Regions from separate parts of the Homo sapiens genome. Here region 1 is linked to region 2. The links are contacts of gene promoters, found by promoter capture Hi-C in human tissues and cell types (Jung and others, 2019). All regions are on one chromosome and are shown on one strand. The core of a region is centred on a gene start or on the middle of the fragment in contact, and the rest is flanking DNA. Distances in the headings are between cores, read along the strand shown. Region 1 has its middle 14 kb from the start of LINC02320. Region 2 holds the start of ZNF839 (zinc finger protein 839).

The links. The method cuts DNA at HindIII sites, captures the fragments that hold promoters and counts their contacts. A contact is called where the count stands out against the background at its distance.
Region 1: a fragment that was not itself captured here is called in contact with the fragment with the promoter of ZNF839 in region 2 in 2 of the 25 tissues and cell types used here (ovary and spleen).

The regions. Positions count from the first base shown.
Region 1 is chr14:101,743,180-101,748,217 of GRCh38, forward strand. No RefSeq gene overlaps it. Among named protein-coding and RNA genes, the nearest start is that of LINC02320, 14 kb to the left of the region's middle. The HindIII fragment of the contact is 7,602 bases long and covers 1-5,038 here.
Region 2 is chr14:102,317,031-102,322,239 of GRCh38, forward strand. ZNF839 (zinc finger protein 839) reads left to right here and starts at 2,716. Exons shown (of 8, transcript NM_018335.6): 1 at 2,716-3,023. The coding sequence starts at 2,736. TRI-AAT5-4 (tRNA-Ile (anticodon AAT) 5-4) reads left to right here and starts at 62; the gene lies at 62-135. RefSeq lists silencers at 2,776-2,875, 2,936-3,125 and an enhancer at 3,226-3,335. The HindIII fragment of the contact is 9,233 bases long and covers 1-5,209 here.

The sequences.
Region 1 (5,038 bases), core at 1,525-4,024, 570 kb before region 2:
GGGTGGATCACTTGAGGTCAGCAGTTCAAGACCAGCCTGTGAGCATGGCCAACATGGTGAAACCCCATCTGTACTAAAAACACAAAAAATTAGCCAGGCGTGGTGGTGCACGCCTGTAATTCCAGCTACTCAGGAGGCTGAGACACTAGAATTGCTTGAACCCAGGAGCCTTTGCAATGAGCCAAGATCATGCCACTCCACTCCAGCCTGGGCAACAGAGCAAGACTGTCTCAAAAACAAAACAAAAAACAAATTTAAAAATGCATACGAAAAAGTGGAAACATATACACAAAATGAGAACAATAATTGCCTTTAGGAGATGGGATTATAAATTTTTTTAACTTTCCTTTCTCTTGTTTACCTGCACTTGCTAAGGTTTGTGCAGTAAATATTTTACTTTTGGAGTCAGTTAAGTTTTGAAAAAGGCAGAAAAAGCCCACAACTGTAACAGGTTCGTCCTCTCCGTAGCAAAGCTGATTCAAACAGCAGTCTTTGAACACAGTAGTATCACGCTGGTTGGTATCGTCTCGGTAGCAGAATGAGAACACAAAATCATCTAGGGCAATAGGAGCAGCAATGTGTAGCAGAGAAAATAGCCCAAGTCAAATTTATGTCCAGCCAAGACCACTAATGAAAGCTGAAAACTAGCATCCTTGCTTCCTCTGCCCACCCCATCCCATCCCACCTTCACATACATCCGCCCACACCCATTAGCCAGAGCATTCCTTTGATGGCCTAAGTTAGATGTCGTCTATGCCCCAGGGCCTTTGCACCAGCTGGTCCTCAGGTGCCAGTGCTCTCTCCCAGTGTCTCACGTGGCTGACTCCTTTGTCAGGTCCCAGTTCAAATTTACCTTCTCAGAGCAACCTTCCCTGACCATCGTAGCTAATATAGCCAACACCCTCTAGCAGGCACCCCATAGAGTCTAATCCAGCTTTGTCCATAGAATTTTCTGTGACAATAAGACTCTTCTGTGTCTATGCTGTCAACTCGCCACATGTGGCTATAAGCACTCAAAATACGGCTAGTGTTAATTAAACATGGAATTTTACATTTTATTTCATTTTTTATTATACATAAGTTCTAGGGTATATGTGCACAATGTACAGGTTTGTTACATAGGTATACATGTGCCATGTGGGTTTGCCGCACCCATTAACTCGTCATTTACATTAGGTATTTCTCCTAATGCTATCCCTCCCCCTGCCCTCCACCCCACGACAGGCCCTGGTTTGTGATGTTCCCCACCCTGTGTCCAAGTGTTCTCATTGTTCAATTCCCACCTATGAGTGAGAACATGCAGTGTTTGGTTTTCTGCCCTTGTGATAGTTTGCTCAGAATGATGGTTTCCAGCTTTATCCATGTCCCTGCAAAGGACACGAACTCATCCTTTTTTATGGCTGCATAGTATTCCATGGTGTATATGCGCCATTTTCTTAATCCAGTCTATCACTGATGGACATTTGGGTTGTTCCAAGTTTTCGTTATTGTGAATAGTGCCGCAATAAACATACGTGTGCATGTGTCTTTACAGTAGCATGATTTATAATCCTTTGGGTATATACCCAGTAATAGTATCTCTGGGCCAAATGGTATTTCTAGTTCTAGCTCCTTGAGGAATTGCCACACTGTCTTCCACAATGGTTGAACTAGTTTACACTCCACCAACAGTGTAAAAGCGTTCCTATTTCTCCACATCCTTTCCAGCATCTGTTGTTTCCTGACTTTTTAATGACTGCCATTCTAACTGGTGTGAGATGCTGTCTCACTGTGGTTTTGATTGCATTTGTCTGATGACCAGTGACGATGAACATTTTTTCATGTGTCTGTTGGCTGCATAAATGTCTTCTTTTGAGAAGTGTCTGTTCATATCCTTTGCCCACTTTTTGATGGGGTTGTTTTTTTTCTTGTAAATTTGTTTAAGTTCTTTGTAGATTCTGGATATGAGCCCTTTGTCAAATGGGTAGATTGCAAAAATTTTCTCCCATTCTGTAGGTGGCCTGTTCACTCTGATGGTAGTTTCTTTTGCTGTGCAGAAGCTGTTTAGTTTAATTAGATCCCATTTGTCTATTTTGGTTTTGTTGCCATTGCTTTTGGTGTTTTAGTCATGAAATTGCACATGCCTATGTCCTGAATGGTATTGCCTAGGTTTGCTTCTAGGGTTTTTATGGTTTTAGGTATAACATTTAAGTCTTTAATCCATCTTGAATTAATTTTTGTATAATGTGTAAGGAAGGGATCCAGTTTCAGCTTTTTACATATGGCTAGCTAGTTTTCCCAGCACCATTTATTAAATAGGGAATCCTTTCCCCATTTCTTGTTTTTGTTGGTTTGTCAAAGATCAGATGGTTGTAGATGTGTGGTGTTATTTCTGAGGCCTCTGTTCTGTTCCATTGGTCTATCTCTCTGTTTTAGTACCAGTACCATGCTGTTTTGGTTACTGTAGCCTTGTAGTATAGCTTGAAGTCAGGTAGCGTGATGCCTCCAGATTTGTTCTTTTGGCTTAGGATTGTCTTGGCAATGCAGGCTCTTTTTTGGTTCCATATGAACTTTAAAGTAGTTTTTTCCAATTCTGTGAAGAAAGTCATTGGTAGCTTGATGGGGATGGCATTGAATCTATAAATTACTTTGGGCAGTATGGCCATTTTCACGATATTGATTCTTCCAACCCATGAGCATGGAATGTTGTTCCATTTGTTTGTATTCTCTTTATTTCCTTGAGCAGTGGTTTGTAGTTCTCCTTGAAGAGGTCCTTCACATCCTTTGTAAGTTGGATTCCTAGGTATTTTATTCTCTTTGTAGCAGTTGTGAATGGGAGTTCACTCATGATTTGGCTCTCTGTTTGTGTGTTAATGGTGTATAGGAATGCTTGTGATTTTTGCACACTGATTTTGTATCCTGAGACTTTGCTGAAGTTGCTTATCAGCTTAAGGAGATTTTGGGCTGAGAACAGTGGGGTTTTCTAAATATACAATCATGTCATCTGCAAACAGGGACAATTTGACTTCCTCTTTTCCTAATTGAATACCCTTTATTTCTTTCTCTTGCCTGACTGTCCTGGCCAGAACTTCCAACACTGTGTTGAATAGGAGTGGTGAGAGAGGGCATCCCTGTCTTGTGCCACTTTTCAAAGGGAATGCTTCCAGTTTTTGCCCGTTCAGTATGATATTGGCCGTGGGTTTGTCATAAATAGCTCTTATTATTTTGAGATACATTCCATCAATACCTAATTTATTGAGAGTTTTTAGGATGAATGGTTGTTGGATTTTGTCAAAGGCCTTTTCTGCATCTATTGAGATAATCATGTGGTTTTTGTCATTGGTTCTGTTTATGTGATGGATTGCATATATTGATTTGCATATGTTGAACCAGCCTTGCATCCCAGGGATGAAGCTGACTTGATCGTGGTAGATAAGCTTCTTGATGTGCTGCTGGATTCAGTTTGCCAGTATTTTATTGAGAATTTTCACATCGATGTTCATCAGGGATATTGGTCTAAAATTGCCTTTTTTGTTGTGTCTCTGCCAGGCTTTGGTATCAGGATGATGTTGGCCTCATAAAATGATTTAGGGAGGATTCCCTCTTTTTCTATTGATTGGAATCGTTTCAGAAGGAATGGTACCAGCTCCTCTTTGTACCTCTGGTAGAATTCAGCTGTGAATCTATCTGGTCCTGGACTTTTTTTGGTTGGTAGGCTATTAATTATTGCCTCAATTTCAGAGCCTGTTATTGGTCTATTCAGAGATTCAACTTCTTCCTGGTTTGGTCTTGGGAGGGTGTATGTGTCCAGGAATTTATCCATTTCTTCTAGATTTTCTAGTTTATTCTCTGATGGTAGTTTGTATTTCTGTGGGATCTGTGGTGATATCCCCTTTATCATTTTGTATTGCATCTATTTGATTCTTCTCTCTTTTCTTCTTTATTAGTCTTGCTAGTGGTCTATCAATTTTGTTGATCTTTTCAAAAAACCAGCTCCTGGATTCATTGATTTTTTGAAGGTTTTTTTGTGTCTCTATCTACTTCAGTTCTGCTCTGATCTTAGTTATTTCTTGCCTTCTGCTAGCTTTTGAAGTTTGCTCTTGCTTCTCTAGTTCTTTTAATTGAGATGTTAGGGTGTTGATTTTAGATCTTTCCTCTTTCTCTTGTGGGAATTTAGTGTTAAAAATTTCCCTCTACACACTGCTTTAAATGTGTCCCAGAGATTCTGGTACATTGTGTCTTTGTTCTCATTGGTTTCAAAGAACATCTTTATTTCTGCCTTCATTTCATTATTTACCCAGTAGTCATTCAGGAGCAGGTTGTTCAGTTTCCATGTAGTTGTGTGGTTTTGAGTGAATTTCTTAATCCTGAGTTCTAATTTGATTGCACTGTAGTCTAAGAAACAGTTTGTTGTGATTTCTATTCTTTTACATTTGCTGAGGAGTGCTTTACTTCCAACTATGTGGTCAGTTTTGGAATAACTGTGATGTGGTGCTGAGAAAAATGTATATTCTGTTGATTTGAGGGGAGAGTTCTGTAGATGTCTATTAGGTCTGCTTGGTGCAGAGCTGAGTTCAAGTCCTGGATATCGCTGTTAACCTTCTGTCTCATTGATCTGTCTAATATTGACAGTGGGGTGTTAAAGTCTCCCATTATTATTGTGTGGGAGTCTAAGTCTCTTTGTAGGTCTCTAAGGACTTGCTTTATGAATCTGAGTGCTACTGTATTGGGTGCATATATATATTTAGGATAGCTCTTCTTGTTGAATTGAATTGATCCCTTTACTATTATGTAATGGCCTTCTTTGTCTCTTTTGATCTTTGTTGGTTTCAAATCTGTTTTATCAGAGACGAGGATTGCAACCTCTGCTTTTTTTTTTGCTTTCCGTTTGCTTGGTAGATCTTCCTCCTTCCCTTTATTTTAAGCCTATGTGTGTCTCTGCACGTGAGATGGCTCTCCTGAATACAGCACACTGATGGGTCTTGACTCTTTATCCAATTTGCCAGTCTGTGTATTTTAATTGGGGCATTTAGCCCATTTACATTTAAGGTTAATATTG
Region 2 (5,209 bases), core at 1,466-3,965:
TAGGGGGCGGGCGCGGGCTTGGAGCCCTCTTAGGCGCTCCCGTGGGGGCCCAACGTCAGGCGGCCGGTTAGCTCAGTTGGTTAGAGCGTGGTGCTAATAACGCCAAGGTCGCGGGTTCGATCCCCGTACGGGCCAGGCTAACTTTTTTTTTTTTTTTTTGGTCCCCGCAATGTTCCTTTCTGATACTGTAACCGGCGTGCAGGCAGGAGAGAACTGCGGAATCTTTTGGACTGGCCCAGAGGTTATCCAAGGCTACCTGCTGGGGAGAGCGGGAGGAACTCAGAGCGCGCTGGGGCGGTGGCTCCTCACCCCGAGTCCCCGCGCCGCCACCTGAAGGGTCTGTTTTAGAATGCCATTGGTTAGGCCTTTTACTTTTGTCGTTTTAAAGGACACTCTGGACATCCAACCGATGCACATCCCACGCCCCCACCCCCCACGTTTCCTGAGGCTGCGTCTGGCCTGGAGGAACCGCCCAGTGAAGACAGGTGCTCGCAGATATCACCGCCTAGTGTTCCCTGGGCCCACTTGCGGGGAAGTCTTGGAGGTGAAAATCCAGGTCTGGAATGAATGCATTCCACAGATGCATATGGAGAGCTACTGCATGCCCAGCACCATTCCTAGGCTGGGAGCAAAACGGTGAGACACAAACCCCAACCCGCTGGAGACAGTGACCAGCCACTAGATGACTGCCATGTTTTTAGTGAGGCATTCAGGTTGTGGAAGCCTCTGGAAACCTTCTCTTGCTTTTTGTCCCCCCTCTTTTCTTTTCGGAGACATCTTAGGCTTCACATTTCTTCCTCTTGGTTCTACATTTTGAAGCCAGAGCAAGTGGATGAATTTCTCACTCGGTTCGTTTCTAGGGTGGTCAGGTGTGCTCAGCTGAACAAAAGCCGGTTGTATAAGGTTGATGCCATTTTATGTCAGGATCCGGCAAGGGCTCCACCTGTTTTTGAAAATTCTACAGTGGAAACAGCTACTAGTTCTGACCTAAATAAGAAGCAGCTCAACATCTACAGACCTTGGTATGTGCCCAGGGTGTAGTAAAAGTTCTCAATAAATGCCAGCCGATGGCGCTGCTGCTATTATAAGCAAAGTTAGGAGAGCCTGGGGCAGCTGACACTTAAAATAGACATCTGTACACAGGATGGATGTCACATCTTTTAATAGTCGTGCCAGGCACGTTGTTAGATGCAGGGACACAGCATGGAGGAATCGGTGGAGGTTGCTGCCCTCAAGTTTCCTGAGCTTGAAGGGGTTTAGAATATGCCACGGTGGCATGAAAATTATTTTGAGCAGAAGGCATGTGAATTCCTGAAATCTGGTCGGGTGTGGTGGCTCACACCTGTAATCTCAGCACTTGGGAAGGCCGAGGCGGGCGGATCACCTAAGGTCAGGGTTTCAAGACCAGCCTTACCAACATGATGAAACCCCGTCTCTACTAAAAATACAAAAATTAGCCAGGCATGGTGGCGGACGCCTGTAATCCCAGCTACTCAAGAGGCTGAGGCAGGAGAACCGCATGAACCCAGGCGATGGAGGTTGCGGTGAGCTGAGATTGTGCCACTGCACTCCAGCCTGGGTGACAGAGTGAGATCTTGTCTCAAAAAAAAAAAAAAATTGTGGTAAGATACCCATAATATAAAATTCACCATTAAAAAATAACACGGAAGGGATCATCGTGAATGCAATGTGAGTATTGATGAGGATGGTGGTGATCTTCCAGAACCTTCTCTGACGCCACCCAGGCCGCCAGCCTTACTTTACCGGCTTCGGCGCTCATCATACTGTGCTGCAAATGCCAGTTTCCTCCTTCCCCCTTGGGAAGTTTCCTCCTTGGGGGTCGGCACCTAGACTGTATACCCCCCAGGGCGGAAACAGCGGTTCACCCACCAGGTGCTTAAGAAGGGTTTGTGGACCAGTGGACCTCCTGCTCTCCCTGGGGAAAGGAGCTGGGACATGTGTACACACCTGCAGCTACAAGATTCGGAGGGCGCACAGAGCCTCAACCGTAAGAAGGAGAGGCGATCAGGCTGAGGAAGATGGGGCAGTGGAGCTGGATGGATAGAGAGAGGGTGGGTTCATTCATTCGTTCACTCATTCGTTTATTCATATTCATCCATCCATCATTCATGCCCTGAGCGTGCGTTGTGTTCTGGGCAGGGCCTGTGCTGGGCACCGATTGTGTAATATATCATCTCTCCCTTCAAGGTGCACCCAATCTGGGTGGGTGGGTAGAGAGAAGCTACGGTGACAAGGCAAAAATTTGGGAAACACTCTCGTTAACAATTCAAACTGTGGTCCCCTCCCAGATGTATAAATCCAAATGTTTAGGGGTGGGCACAGTACTCTGCATCTCCAGACAGCATCCTCCGCTGATTCGGATGCATGATGACGTCAGAACACTTGGATATTGTGGTAACTTTTGGGCCAGGGGCTCTGAAACCCCGAAGACCTCCCCCTGGGAGATCCGGGACAGCTCCCAGAGAAGGTGAGTCTTAAACACATCCGTGACAGGCAATAAGGAAAATAAGGGGGGTCCGCTCTGCTGATCAGCCCTAAGAGCCGCGGCGGTTGTCGGCTGGGGCGGGGCACTCCACGACTTTCCCGGCCAGACACGGTCGCCTTCCTAGGTGTCTTGGCCTGCGAGGCACTCGTAGCCCGCCCCTCTCCTAGGTGACGTACATTGGAGACGCCGTCGCTCAGCGACCCGGGTTCGAGTCCCCGCCTCGGCCGCCATGGCGGATGCGGAGCCGGAGGCTGGGGGCGGCAGCGAGGATGGCGGCGGCGGCGGCGGCCCGGCTCCTCCGGGCCAGAGCGGCAGCGTCGCACGTGTGGCCCCGCTGGGCCCCGAGCAGCTGCGGCAGGTCCTGGAGCAGGTGACGAAGGCGCAGCCGCCGCCGCCGCCGCCCCCCTTCGTGCTGCGGGACGCGGCGCGGCGGCTGCGGGACGCGGCCCAACAGGCCGCCCTGCAGCGGGGCCGGGGCACCGAGCCCCCGCGCCTGCCGCGCCTGCTCCCGCCCCAGGTGAGGCGTCGGGAGGGACGTGGGGAAACTGAGGCCCGAAGGGGGCCGACGCCCCGCGGCGGGGTAGCTGCTTGTCCGGGGAGGCCAGTATCCGCCCGGGTTAAGACTCAGGGCGTCCCCAGGCTGAGCTTCTTAGGGACGGCGTTCGGCCCCCACCTGTCACCACCCTGGCATTTTCACCCCAGGAGCCTCACTCTAGGAGCGGTTGCTCACGCTGGGCCCTGTGCCTGGAACGCCCTCGTGCCTTCTCTGCCTTCACAGCCCTGCTGGGGGCTTTTGCGTGCTCCCTAGCTCTTCTTACAGGCCTTTCACCGCTGGTTCAGCCTTTGTGGAGCACTTAGAGACCGTGTTCCCAGCACTCCCCACTATGTGCAGGAGGTGAAGCCTTGAACACACTTGCTGAAGAACGAACATAAGGCAGGTTCTGGGATTGACGGGGGCTGCTTTAGAGTGGGTGGTCCCGTAGGCCAGACACTGGAGCTGAAACATAAATGAATTAAAAGGAACCAACTTAGCTTTTCAGTTGTAAGGTGCCAAGGCCCAGGCTTGGAACAAAGTCAAGCACAATACACTAGTTCGCTGCAGGACTTAACATCCTGGGTGATAGTGACTGATTTGTAACCGCAGTACCCAGCACAGTGCCTGATACACAATGTTTGGAATATGTGAAAGCACTCTGTATACTACAAAACATCCTTTCCCAGTGGGTTTATTTCCTGGGCCACACACCTTTTGGTTGCTAGGGGGGTGATAACTAGAAGACGGTCGCCCAACTCCGGAGGGTGAAGCATAGCGCCTGAAGCCAGAGGGCCTACACGGCATCTGTAAAATTCCACCCCATTTCAGCGCTGGGGTTGTAAACAAAATTAGTCTCACCCCAAAATTGCCAAAAGAAGACAGCTTTTTCCACTAGAAGAAACGGGTTAGGGAATAGAATCAGGAACCTTCACTCGTTGAGTTTTTTTGACTGATGTTAGCTGCTTAGGGTTGTATCCAGTTAATCATCAAGACTGGAGAGTTGTCTTGCTAAGGTTTAGGAAGACCAGTGTGATTCTGTCCAGATGCCACACTATCACTATCTAGAGGTGTGACCTTGGGTAAGTCAACCTTTTTGGACTTTGGTCTGGGTCAGAAGGCTGCAAGGTGCCATCTGGGGGCAGCTATCTGCAAAGCCTCTGCTCTGCGCCCGGCGCTGTGCGGGGCCGCTCAGTTTTCAGCAGTGTTTTTGTACCGGCATTTTGCAGGTGGGAAACAAGCTCAGGGAGGTTGCGTGGCTTTGCCCAAGGTCCCTCAGGTGTGGCTGCTCTCCCTAGCCCCTGTACTCCTCACCATACCCTGCTGAATATGGCCACAGCTTTTTGGGTTTGGAATCCAAAAATGACATATTTTTCGTAAAGCAAAAGCAAACTTATTCGAGCTTAGGCAGCATGATGGGATTGTATTTTGTAGCTAATCTAATGGAGACGATATAAATTCTACCTGCAATAATATACCTTTGCAGCACATTCTTTTAATACTCTTTCAGCCCCAGCTGTGTCATGGAGGCCACAAAGGCAAACCGGATGCGTACTTTGCCCCTCAGTAGTTTATGAACTAACAGGAGATGAAACAAGACCCAGATAACTTCTAGTCAAGGCCAGAAAGCTAAAGATAGTGAAAAAGAACTGAATGTATTTAGAGAAAGGGAGATTGTTCCTGGCTGAGGACATCAGAAGCAGCTTTGTTGAAGAAGTGGTATCTGAACTAGATTTGAAAGGGTGCGTCTGAGTTGAAAATGCAGAAGGGGAGAGGCAGGTTCTGGGGCGGTTGGGGGTGCATTTCAACAACCACAGCAGAAGGCCCAGTGTTCGCTGTGGGGGTGGTGTGGATCAGCAGCACAGACCAATGGACACACTTGGGTCAGATCGAGGCCCCTGTCTCTCCCCATCCTCCCTCTTCCCCACCCCACAGAAATTTCCAGTTCCATCCAACATGCTGTGCCCCTTTTCATGCATCCGTGCATTTACACATGGATGTGTGCCCTTTTTCACCTGGCAAAAATTCCCAGCCTTCAAAATGCCCCTCAGAGATCACAGCTTCTGGGCAGCCCACCACCTCTGGGCTGTTCCTGCCTCTTGATTGCACCTGTTGTACCATGATGACATTTTTCCTGTCTGCCTCACCTGTCTGCATTCCTTAGGGAAGCT